2 separate regions of the Homo sapiens genome follow, and region 2 is linked to region 1. Evidence: promoter capture Hi-C in human tissues and cell types (Jung and others, 2019). All regions are on one chromosome and are shown on one strand. Each heading gives the region's core, a stretch centred on a gene start or on the middle of the fragment in contact. The rest is flanking DNA. Distances are from core to core; before and after follow the strand shown.

What was found. Contacts are between HindIII fragments. The study calls those that stand out against the background at their distance.
Region 2: a fragment that was not itself captured here is called in contact with the fragment with the promoter of SNAI1 in region 1 in 1 of the 25 tissues and cell types used here (neural progenitor cells).

Annotation. Positions count from the first base shown.
Region 1 is chr20:49,979,181-49,985,747 of GRCh38, reverse strand. SNAI1 (snail family transcriptional repressor 1) reads right to left here and starts at 2,768. Exons shown (of 3, transcript NM_005985.4): 1 at 2,607-2,768; 2 at 1,397-1,924. The coding sequence starts at 2,688. RefSeq lists silencers at 2,754-3,273, 6,335-6,434, 6,535-6,567 and an enhancer at 3,426-4,363. The HindIII fragment of the contact is 23,979 bases long and covers 1-6,567 here.
Region 2 is chr20:49,844,938-49,851,504 of GRCh38, reverse strand. It overlaps SLC9A8 (solute carrier family 9 member A8), which reads right to left. Exons shown (of 16, transcript NM_015266.3): 5 at 6,386-6,469; 6 at 1,825-1,926; 7 at 661-695. Among named protein-coding and RNA genes, the nearest start is that of MIR12122, 16 kb to the left of the region's middle. The HindIII fragment of the contact is 4,181 bases long and covers 1,417-5,597 here.

The DNA of each region.
Region 1 (6,567 bases), core at 1,519-4,018:
TGGAACAGGTGCTGGGCACCGCTGCCCCATGCACCTGCTCCACCCCTCCCAGCCCCCACCCACTGGGCCCACCATTAAGGCACACAATGGGAGTCAATGAGGACCGCAATGATACATTTCAAGGGGATTTCTGTGTCTCAGCCATGCCTTTACATTAAAATAATGTCCAGATGGGAGGTGAGAGAGGCAGGCAGGACTGCAGCACCCTGAGGGGTTCAACTGTCCCAAAATAGAGCCCTGTGAGCTGGGCAGGCACCCAGGAGGCCAGGCAGTTGGACCTTTACATGTTAAAATCAGAGCAATTGGTGCACGAAGGAAGAGAAATGGGTAGCCTTAGTCGAATAAGATGCCAATAAAGCCCGCGAATTGCCAGTCCTCCCAGACACCTCACTAACCCTCACCGCTCAGAGGTCAGGCGCCAGGCCAGGAAATGGCAGAACCTGGCCAGCTTGAACCCTGTGGAATCTTCTCCCTCAACTGTCACTCTCCAAAGAGCAGCTCCAGGCACAGTGGCTGCCACCATTCAAGTTCTAAAAAGTTCTACCTTTTCTCCATGTCCAGAAAGTTTTTTACACATTTAGTAAATTTTCAAAAGACGTGATTGTGTTTTCTGCCCCAAAGATGCCGTTTCCTGGTCTGTGTGCTAGGATTCAGTGGGGGTGGGGAAGCCGACCTGAGAACCGTTCGGGTATAATAAATTACTATAAAGTGATTAGCCACCTTTACAGCCACTCTCTAAAACATATGCTATCATAGTTTTCCCCTAAGGCTCAGAGAGGTTAAGTTGCTTGCCCAAAGTCACACAGCAAGGAAGCAGAGCAAATGCCAAGGAACCATTTTTGTGAGAGTTTAGCAGGTACCGGCACTTTGCCAGGTGCTTCCCATATGCATTCCTGCATTTAGCCTGTATAGAAACCCCAAAAGCTGTTCTCATGCCCATCTGAAAGATAGAGAAAATGAGGCTCACAGAAGAGAAACATCAGCCTAAGTTTTGAGAAAGTTCTCAAAGAAGGATTCAGAGCCAGGCGGGGGGTCTGACAACATCCTGTCTGGCTAGGGAGGGGGCGGACCCGGGAGAGGGTGTGGCCGGGTGGGCCCCTTCACACCTGGCCCCCACAGCAAGGTGTTGGTTGCACCTTTCCCATATCCAGCTCCGACCCATTTGGCTGAGAAACAGGCTGCAGGGGATTGGGAAGGTGTCTGCTTTGCCCATCTGCTTAGCTGATGAAGAAAGTTTCTGCCAAACGTTTCCAGAGAGCCAGGCCCTGGAACTTGAGCTAGAAGTTAGAAGACTCGGGGCCTCAGTGTCCACAGCTTTGGGAATGAGAACAGCAAGCCCAGATTCACAAAAGCTGCCAGAGAGAGCAACGGTGGGGGCGCCTGGAGGGGCACGTACCAGTGTGGGTCCGGACATGGCCTTGTAGCAGCCAGGGCCTAGAGAAGGCCTTCCCGCAGGTTCCGCAGACGCAGGGCAGCGTGTGGCTTCGGATGTGCATCTTGAGGGCACCCAGGCTGAGGTATTCCTTGTTGCAGTATTTGCAGTTGAAGGCCTTTCGAGCCTGGAGATCCTTGGCCTCAGAGAGCTGGGCCAGCTGCTTGGGCACTTGGCCCAAGCCTGGGAAGGCAGCATAGGCCTCGGCCTCCAAGGAAGAGACTGAAGTAGAGGAGAAGGACGAAGGAGCCGGTGAGGGTGGGCTGGGGGGCTGGGAGCCTTTCCCACTGTCCTCATCTGACAGGGAGGTCAGCTCTGCCACCCTGGGACTCTCCTGGAGCCGAAGGGAGGCCCAGGCAATTGGCTGGGCTTGGGGCGCCAGGACAGAGTCCCAGATGAGCATTGGCAGCGAGGCGGTGGGGTTGAGGATCTCCGGAGGTGGGATGGCTGCCAGCAGGTGGGCCTGGTCGTAGGGCTGCTGGAAGGTAAACTCTGAGGGAGAAAAAGCAGAGTCAGGCGTTAATTAAATCATTCACTCAATCAACAAACATGAGCCCACCGCTGGCCAGGGGCTGGGTGGGGCCGATTCTCAATACATAATTAGATCAAAAAAATTATCCACAGGACAGACCAGGTTCCTGCCCTCCTCGCCCAGGTCACCCAATCTGAGTCTCTCACACGTAGGACCCCCAGTTGAAGGAGGTCATTTCCTGATCTCCCTCTCCTAAGTCCCCAGTCTCCAGCCTGAGGCCAGAACCCCATCATCCCAGCCCCGGAGCCACCACCCTGCCCCAATCCCCCTCCTCACACACATCTCGTCTCCCCACCCCTCCCCTCAACCCTCTGGACTCCGGACTCTCCCCAGCAGCGTCCAGAGGGCCCTCCTGACACAGGCCTCCTCTCCTTCCCCTCTTGCGGAGCTCCTCCGCCTCTCGCCGGCTACAAAGGCCCCCCAAGCTGAAGACCCCTGCCCTCTACACGGCACTCCCCCAACCACCCAGACAGATCCCCGGAACTGGGGACCCACTTGCCCGGTCTCCCGAGCCCGCAATGGTCCACAAAACATCCTGTGACTCGATCCTGGCTCAGGCAGGCCGCCTCCCTCAGGTGCCCCCCACGCAGCCTTCGCCTGTCTCCCCCAAACCTCCTGGAGCCCAGAACCCCTCCAACGCACCTGGATTAGAGTCCTGCAGCTCGCTGTAGTTAGGCTTCCGATTGGGGTCGGAGGGCTTCCTGACGAGGAAAGAGCGCGGCATAGTGGTCGAGGCACTGGGGTCGCCGATTCGCGCAGCAGTAGCGCAGAAGAACCACTCGCTAGGCCGTGCCGCGGCGCAATGAATGCAGCAGCGCCGCCAACTCCCTTAAGTACTCCGGGGGGGTGGTGGGGGGTGGGAGGGGCGGGGCCTTATCTGCCACGCCCCTTTGTCACCTCCGCGCCAATCGGAGGCTCGTCTCCGCCGAAGGCCACTCCCCGAGCAGGTGCGCCGGCTGCTGGCCGGGCTCGCGCCGCGTGGCGGTGAGAGCCCGGGCGGGGACTCCTCCGAGGCGGGGTTCGCTGGCGCAGCGCGGGTCGTCCCCGGTGCTGGGGCTGTCCGGGGCGGGACGTCGAGCGAAGCGAGGCCTCTGCGAGGTGGGACCCCGGCAGGACGCCGCGCGCCCACCGGCTCAGCGCCCGGTGGTCTGAGCGCTTCTGACGCCCCCTGGCGCTGCGCGCCGGCCGGGACACCTGACCTTCCGACGCCCGCCCCCGCCTCGGGCTTGGGAGGGGGCGGAAATTTCCTCCGCCCGGCTGGCGCCTGGAGAGCGTGGCATTGACGAGGGAAACGCACATCACTGGGGAGGAAGCGAGGAAAGGGACACCGCACGTGGCTCTCGGCGGCTTGAAATGCCACGGCCTTTTTGCAAAGCAGCCTGGCCCAGCTAGCCAAGAGCACCCGTTCCTTCCCTTATCCAGTGTTTACGGAGCGCCCAGCACGTGTGGGGCACTGTACCTGGGGCCAGGGCACAGCCCCGGACAGAACACTCAGAGCCTCTCCCGAAGGGTAGCTTCTGGTCCAGTGAGGGAGACAGACGAAGTAAACAGATAATTACAATGCAAAGGGAAGTGTGCTTTGGTGGGGGAGAGACGGGACGCGGCGACCGTTAAGAGGCGGGTCACCTGACAGGGGGTCGGGGTGACTTCCCAGAGGAAGTGAAGAATTATCAAGGGAAAAGGCCCGAGGGAAGAAGTGGCAACTGCTTCAGAGTAACTCCTAGAGAGCAGCTTCCAGGGATGGGGTGGGATGGGCATGCCCGGAGGGGTCAGATGTGCTGGGCCCCAGGGCCTCGTAGGAGTTTGGACTTTGCCTCAAGGGCACTGGGGAGCCACCGAAGGATTTTCAGCTGAGGAGGGACCTGGTTAGAGTTTCGTTGAAAAAGATCCCTGTAGGCTGGCGGGAGAAAGAAGGCATGGGCCGGGCGTGTCTCCTCACCCCGTGAAGATCCTCGATCCTGTGTCTAAAGGCTGTAACACGGCTCCATAGGGGCCCTGACTGAATGCATGTGGGGTGGGCCCAAGTGAGGGGCAGCTGCACCCCCACCCCAGCTTCCCTGGGAGGCGTACCAGGCCCGGGGGTGGCTCTGAAATAAACCTCACAGGTCTCACCGTTCTTGTTTCCACCTGTGAAGGAAGACTATAAAAACCTATAAGCACCCCACACCACCACCACCACCAACCTGAAGGGCAGAACTACTGTCTGTTTAGTCACTTGGTGCCGGGTGTGACAGCCGTGAACAAAATCGTCCTCCCCTGGTTCTAGCTGGAGAGCGGGCAGTAGGGTGGGGGACAGAGGCAGTAAGCAGTCATTAAGCGGAATACTCCCCGTCCCGTGTCAATTTAGCTCCAATCAGGATCCTTTGCTTGAAGCCAAAGTGAGGCCAGATCACCCCCTCCTCTGCTCAAACCCTCCCATGCGCCTGTCTCAGAGTAAAAGCCAAAGTCCTCTCCTCAGCCAACTCGGCCCCGCTGCTCTGACCCCAGCTGACATTGGCTTGAGCCTCTCTCCCTCCCCCATGCACAAGGATCCCACCCCCAGCCTTCCTTCTGTTCCTCCAACATCCCAGACCTTTCCCACCTTGGCACCTGCTGCTCTTCCTCCTCTCCCCTACGTCTCTTGCTCCTAGATCTTCACGCTGGCTTCCTTTCATTCTTTGTTTCAGCAGCAACTTCACTAACTGCTCAGCCTCGTTTAGTGAAGAGAGAAATGGCAAATTCAAGCCACAGTGAGCTGCCATTTCACGCCCATCAGAAGGACAACAAGGAAAAATTTGGTCACTATCAAGAGTTGATGAGGAGGTGAGAGCTGGCGAGAGGGTCGGTGGGCATAGTCACTTTGGAAAAGTTTGGCATCAGCTAGCAACAGGTGACTCCTCTCCCTGTCTGTCCTCAAGCCAACTGCATCCCAGGGGCTGCAGCTGACAAGTCTGTCCTCAAACCAACTGCATCCCAGGGGTTCTCAGCTCTGGCAGCACATTAGATCCCCACAGGGAAGGATTAAAACACCTAAGCCTCGGCCCACCCCACCCCCACCCACATCTTGATTTAATTAGTCTGGGTGGGGCCTCTGGCATCAGCATTTTAAAAAACTCCCCTGGGGATTATAATGAGCAACCAAGCAAAGTAAAGAACTGTTGTCCAGCCCAAACCCCGAAAAAACAAAAAAGGATATTCATTGTACCCTCGTTCCTAATAGCAAAAAAAGCAAAAACTAAAACAAAACTGGATACAACACAAATGTTTATAAACAGTAGACTGGATTAATGAACCCTGGTGCAATCCTGTAATAGAATACTATACAGCAATAAAAATGAACTACAACTCCATGCAGCAACAGGGATGAATCTCAAAAACACAATGTCGAGCAGAGGTCACAAACAAATGCATAGTTATTTGGATTTATACGAGGTTCTGAAGCAGGCAAATGAAACCCTATATTATTTAGGGATGTATGTGGGGGTTGTAGAATTAGAAAGAAAAGCAAGGAAGTGGTTTTTTGTTTTGTTTTTGAGACGGGGTCTTGCTCTGTCACCCAGGCTGGAGTGCAGTGGCACAATCACGGCTCACTGCCGCCTGGAACTCCTGAGCTCAGCCTGCCAAAGTGCTGGGATTACAGGGGTGAGCCACTATGCCGGCTGCAAGGAGATGTTTGATACAAAATTCTGAAGAGTGGCTGGTGAGGAGGGGAGGCAAGAACAGGCTGCACATGAAGCTTCTAGAATTTTGGTAATGATCTGTTTCCTAGGCAGGGAGGGATCTTTATTGTTAGTCTTTCTACTGTACATGGACTATTTATTTTACCGTATCTTCATGACATGGTAGTGTACAGAGACAATTTAAACACTTTTAGGTATGAATAATATATTTAACACAAAAAATGTAAGTCACTTCCTCAGGGGAGCCTTCCCTGATCACCCTAGCCAAAGTAGGACCCACCCTTGCCCCAGCACCCACCTTCTTTTTTCTTTTTTTCCCCCTTTTTTCACTGAGACGCGCTACCATGCCTGGCTAATTTATTTTTTGTAGAAATGGGGTCCCACTATGTTGCCCAGGCTGGTCTCAAACTCTGCGGCTCAATTGATCCTCCCACTTTAGCCTCCCAACTTGGTGGGATTACAGGAGTGAGCCACCGCGCCCAGCCCACCTTTCTCTCTCATTGTCTTATTCTGTTTTCTTCAAAGCACATAATGGGGGCTCAATCAAGTACTTGCAGGCAGCCACTGCCTGGGCCTCCCGCTTTCCACTTTCCTTCAGTGGTCAGGCACCTGCGCGGGGCATGGGGGTGGGAGGCAACGCAGAGGGGAGGGGCCTTGCTCAGATCGGATCGAATTGTCCCCGCCACCCCCTCCAGGCCCGCCCTCGCTCCACTCCCTCCTGCAGGCGGCGGAGACCACGAGGTGAGAGGAGGCTTCGGGCCAGGCCTCTCGGCCGCAGACCCAGCTCCCTTTGCAGGGGAAGGTGAGGTGACACTTTTGATACTGTGGGGTCAGGTCCTCCCGGAAATGGGCGACATCTGCGGCCCAGGTGGCCTGGGACCCGGCAGGGCCAGGCCCTCCCCAGCTCCCCGCACGAGGGGGTCCCGCCCCAGGCCTGGGGCGCG
Region 2 (6,567 bases), core at 2,258-4,757, 130 kb after region 1:
AGCAAGGCTGTCTGCTCTCAGAGGGGGGAACCCAGACTATGCTCAGCATGGGCACTTTTTCAGCACTAGATCTGGTACCTTCTGAGAGACAACTGCCTCAACCTAGTGAGGTTGCTTCTCACTATGCAATTCTGGGAAATCCTGGATGGGGCTCATGGGAAGTGCTCACGGGAGTGGCTTCAGATGGAGGGGCTTTCTACAATAACCACAATAGAGGTCTTGGCCCTGCTTCCCCCACCACAGGCTTCGTGGGAATCCCAGAGGAAAGTTTCTCCGTCACTCCCCCTCTCCATCTCTAATCTGTCAAGAAGACTTTTTGTTACGGCGACTGAAAAGTCTTGTAAATAAGAAGACAATGGTACAGTGTACGCGTGCACACAGGCAGGGCAGTTAGCTGAGCAGAGTTACTCCCTCCCAAGCTTAAACTAAATCATTCCAATCAGCAATGCCCCACTAGGGATCTTCAAAAGTCTTTAGGATACTTTTGATTCATTTCAGAGATACAAATTAACTCAGAGTAAGATTCTATGGCAGAAATCCTTACCAAAAATAAATACACAGAGAGAGAATAGAACAGTACCACACCCAGGAAGCAATGTGGAGAAACATTTCCCCTGTCTGAAAAGCAGTCGCATGGGTGTTACAGTATGAAGGATTTACCTGTCTGTCATGTTGAGTTTAGAGATTACATCAGCCTGTAAAATAAAACACACAAACACACAGACACACACAAAAAAAAAACCCTGGAGAACAGCCAAGATTTAAATGTCCATTAGTGCTTTATTAAAACTAATAAGGACATTAATCTTCAGTTCCCAAACCACTTGAAAAATAAAAGCTCCTAAGCCTTAGTTGAAACATGCATTCCATCGGCATGCAACGAGAGTATGGAAAAGAATGCTACATTCTTCAAGCCCAATTAACTGTAGTTTCCTTAAGTTTATTCTTACTTAATACTAGAAGCTGAGCAATGAAGAAAGCTGCATGACAGACAGATTTATTCTGGTGCCATCAAAGCTGCAATATAGGTGAAAATCCAATGGAATGGGCTTTGGCTATTGAGAGAAGAAAGCAGCTGATGTGTTAAAGAAATCTGCCCGTCACTCAGATACCTGACCCTCAACTTAATTTTCAGAACTGAGACAGGCAAACTTTCTGCAACTGACAATAAAGGAAAAGAATGTGACATGCATGGACATGCATAATACAAAACTACAGATACTACCTTCCTAGGGATGTTTGGTCTAAATTAATTTGAAGTCTAAAGTAGAGACCACCCAACTGGTGCCACTGGGAAGTGGTTTAGCAATTGTGGAAAATCCAGAGTATATAATTCTACAGGTAGACAGCTTAGAATTGAGTGAAGAGATTCAGCATCACCTTTGATTTTATTATTTCTCCAATGCCAGCAGAAAAGCACATCTTTGATTTTTTAAATACAAATTTTTATCAAAAAACAGCATTCAACCCCAATTCAGTCTACTTGACAACACAGTTTGAAGTTCTTGATGGCATATATTTGGCTTCATTTTTAGGTATTCTAATTTAAGACAGTATTGGTTTGCAAATAAACTCAAATACTTTGGGGGGGATTATGGAAAAGTTTTACTCAATTCCAGATACCAAAGGTCTTGGAGGACACTTTGAAACAATTTAGCACGCCTCTACTGTGCCTCATATGAAGCTAGGATTTCCTTCCAGAAGGAATTTACCTTAAGGGTGAAACCCAGGCCCCACAAAGTGGCCCCATTTCACCTTCCCACCTCCCTGCACTAGCTCTAAGAATGTAAGACTTTCAAAGTGTTTCAAAGATGATTTTCTTACCTGACCCAGAAAATAAATTCCTCCACCTACTACAAAAGCGGAGATTGCCGTCCCAAAAACAGCAAACAGGGTGATGGAACCAATATTTTGAAAGAAGTTACCCTGTTTGAAAGAGCAGAAATCAGGGAAATGATTAGAAAAGCCATTCCTGTCAGTGAAGGCACGGCCTGCACACCTGGCCCTCCGTGCAGACTTGATTCTCTGTAAAAGGCACCACTGCCCAACCTGTGTGGCAAGCTGGGAGCCCGGGAGTCTTCCTGCACCCCCGCACTTACTGCAGTGTCCCGTCACTCACACCATCTTTCATCTGAAACACTGCATAGCTTCGCACAAGTCTCCTCAACCCCCCAGGGCCCCTTTCCCTCCACTCTCCCGTCTTTCCAGAATGATCTTCCCAAAAGACAAATCTGATTGTGCTGCCTTCACCTGGACCCCTATTTCCACTTAAAATGCAGCTAGCCCCCACCCTGAATGATTCGACTCCTGGGGAGGCCTCTGGGCTCATCTGGCACCATGCTCGCCTTTGTTCTCTGGGTTCCAGTCCCACTGGTGGCTTCGAGCAGGTTGTGCTCCCTCTTTGCTTGTTAAGCTTTCATCATCCCAAGATCTCAGGACATTTCAACTCTTCCCAGATCCTAGTCTGTGCTCTCAGTGCACAGTCACCCTCTCTTGTAGCGGTTGACAAGACTGCAATTTTGCACTTATTTATGTACTGATGTCTTACTTTCCCATGAGGCTGCAGGCTCATTCTGGGCAATGACCCCACCTGCTTTCGCACAACACGGTCCCTGACATAATGCCCGTCAGATGGAAGATGCCCAACAGACAGGCACTGAAGGAATTAACTGTGTTTCACATCCAAAGTCCACACTATTAGGATACCAAGATACACTATCAGATATTCCTTTTTCCTGGCCAGGTCTTTTAAACAATTTTACTTCACTCTATTAGTATCATCATTAACTATGTCAGATAAAATGTTTCTATCTATACTTCACAGCGTTTAAGATAAAATATTCAAGTTCAAGCAGCATGGTAGCATCTTTCAAATTTCCATAAAATTAAGGAAATTAAGCTATTTATTATAACCCTATGAACTCCACTTAGGAGCTACCAAGAGTCTTTGATCACCCCCGATTGTGGTTGTGAACAAGAATCTTGTTTTTAGCTCAGAAATCACCAAACCATGGACATCAAGACCTGCTATTTTAAAGCCCACTTGTGAAAGAGTGTCCTCAGCTGAACACTGACTGCCCCACTAAGCCCACCTCCTAGAAGCTGCAATTTTGACTTGGCTGCCTATCATCTGACATTCAATTCCTTTGTTTGGCATATCAATCTTTACTGCACAAAGAATTTTAAAACACAATGATTTGGTTTTTCAAAACAAAGGGCTTTCAATCTATGAGTTGCTCTTTGCAAATCGCTGTTTTCTTTTGTTATTTAAAAACAGATTAGACTGGGCTCGGTGGCTCAAACCTGTAATCCCAGCACTTTGGGAGGCCAAGGCGGGTGGATCATCTAAGGTCAGGAGTTCGAGACCAACCTGACCAACATGGAGAAACCCCATCTCTGCTAAAAATACAAAATTAGCTGGTGTGGTTATAGACGCCTGTAATCCCAGCTACTCGGGAGGCTGAGGCAGGAGAATCGCTTGAACCCAGGGGGCCGAGGTTGCAGTGAGCCGAGTTCGCAGTGAGCCGAGTTCGTGCCATTGCACTCCAGCCTGGGCAACAAGAGCAAAACTCCATCTCAAAAAAAAAAAAAAAAAAACAGATTAATCAGTTTTGACCTGTTTGCAGAGATCTAATGTTGATATAATTTATATATTTGGTTAATATTAATCTGGATCCTGAACATTTACCCAAGTTAAAGTTACCATAATACAAGAACTTCCCTCTGCTACATAAAGCAAATTTATCTGTTTCTCTCTGACATAATTAACATCCTGTGATTTGTGTAATATTTGCAATTCAAAGAACCAGTTGCTGCCTAGCTAATGCATATCAACTGATGATAATCTTACTGTAATCTGTATTCTAAATCCAAATTTACATTAGCAGATATCATAATATTAAAATAAAATATTCAAACTTTACTTCCTATCATCTTTGGGCGAGGGTAGAAAGTGGATAGAAGTTTCAGAAGTAGCATTTCATAATCCTATCAGTCCCTTTCATATAAATTGTCACATTTCCTGCTGGAAAGTCATCTTCAACAAAATGTTTCTCTAAAAAACTATTACTTTCCTCAAATTTTGAACAAGTTTCTCTCCCCTCTAAAAAAAAAAAAAAAAAAGAAAAGAAAAACTTTACATGCTCTAATATTCAAAATGTCATGTTTTTAAGTCAAAATCAAGTCAATTTCCTCAGCATGTTTTGAAATATTTTCATATCTGCTTACAGTTAAGATTTGTTTACAAAGTGAAAGGAAAGACATGGTGACCTTCAACTTATGTTTCCTTGTTAAAAATTATCTGATGTCACTAACAGTTTGTAAGACTTGTGAATATTTTTTACATTAAATTTCCTTTTCACTTTTTCTTTGGATAGATGCACAATAAAATAATAACTTAAAAAAAAATCTGGGCTGAACATCTTAATATGCTTTTGTTTTAGTACAGGAAAATTAAAGACTTAATTTCTATGTTTTTACCAAACATTTCTAGACAAATCTAACTCATTTTTTAAAATTATGTATTTATTTATTTTATACCATGTCAACAACAAATTAAGTTTATTTTTATTTATTTATTTTTGAGACAAAGTCTCCCTCTATCACTCAGGCTGGAGTGCAGTGGCGTGATCTCAGCTCACTGCAAGCTCCACCTCCCGAGTTCAAGCTATTCTCATGATTCTCATGCTTCAGCCTCCAGAGTAGCTGGGATTACAGGCACGCACCACCACGACCAGCTAATTTTTGTATGTTTAGTAGAGATGGGGTTTCACCATGTTGGCCAGACTGGTCTTGAACTCCTGGCCTCAAGTGATCCACCCACCTCGGCCTCTCAAAGTGCTGGGATTATAGGCATGAGCCACTGGGCCCGACCATATTAAGCTTAATAAATTATTATTACTACTGGTGGTAATATTGTTATTAATAATAAATGACATTTTTATCATTAATAACAAGCAGCAGCACTTCATTTATTTAGTGTGGTGGGTGGTGCTTTGCCTACGTTCTTTCATCTAGTGTGACTCTCAAAGCACCCTGGGAGGTAGGGTTTTGGGGTTTTTGGTTTCTACTTTACCAAAAAGAAACCTGTAGGGGGCAGCGCATGATTAGATCTGTGTTGTGTCTCTGGCTTTCCTCTCTCCAAGGACTGGCCTAAACTTTCCAATCTTCACAGTTTTTTTAAAAATCACATTCACAAAATAGCTGCTGTATTATTAATACTAGTATTTTAAGTTGAATCACTTTATTTTAAAACTTAAATACATTTATGTTTAAAGAAAACTCACAGACAAGGAAAAAACCATGCACGCACACAAGCAGGCTTAAAAGTGAGAAGCTCCTGCTCAGGCAGAAAGACTCACACTAGGGGACGAGTGTGGTGGCTCATGCCTGTAACCCCAGCACTTTGGGAAGCCAAGGTGGGTGGATCACTTGAGGTCAGGAGTTCGAGACCAGCCTGGCCAACATGGTAAAACCCCGTCCGTCTCTACTAAAACGACAAAAATTAGCCGGGCAAGGTGGCGTGTGCCTGTAATCCCAGCTACTCAGGAGGCTGAGGCAGAAGAATCACTTGAACCCACAAGGTGGAGGTTGCAGTGAGCCGAGATCATGCCACAGGACTCCAGCCTGGGTGACAGAGTGAGACTCCATCTCAAAAAAAACAAAACAAAAAAAAAAACATCTCACACTGGGAGTTGCAAGGCAATGGCCGTCAAGGCCAAGCCAAAGCAGAGAAGTGGGTAGGGGCCAGTGCCACTGCTCACCAAGGCAGGGAGGAAAGAATGGGCAGGCAACTGTGGGACTAGGCAGGGAAGGATGGGGCTCCAGCCTGGGAAGGAGAAGCTGGACCAGGGAGTGGGCGAGGAGCGATAGAGGTTGAGGGATGAAGGGGAATATCAAGCTGGGGTCTGAGGCCAGGGGAGGGCACCGAGAGGGAGACATGGAAGGATGGATGGGCCTGAGAAGGTTAGAAAGGCCCCAGTGGGGGAGCTGAAAGAAACAAAAGTCCTGGGGCACATGTCCCCGTCGTCCCAGGACACAGTCTATCCTCTTTACATCTATCAGTCTGTGTCCAGGAAGACGAGTCAATGCATCATCTGTGAGCCACTTAACATCACTTCAGCCATCTTCCTGGGCAAAGCACCCATTTATGGCAAACACTGGCTCAGTGAGCCATACTGCCTGAAACCATTAAAGCAGCCAATTCATCATGTCTGCTCCTCTCCAGAAGTCAGGCACTGCAGTCCAGCTTCCACTGAGCACAACCAGGAAGGAGCAGAGCTGCTGCTGCTGCTGCTGCTAAATTATACCCAAGCTTTTAAGGAACTTGCCTTACAAACATGAGAAACTGTCCAGACCAAAGCACCAATGTGTGCCTGAGTCTCACCTTGTGTAATGAATATCCAGACTCAAAGATAATAGGGGGAAGCAGGAGGAGGAAAAACATGTTTGGACGAAACATTTCTTCTTCCTGTAAATAGAAAATGAGTATCTTAAGGGCATGGAATTTGTGTAATTAAGAAATAAATTAATCAATAAAGAGCCAAAATAATTATTCTCTCAGGGCCT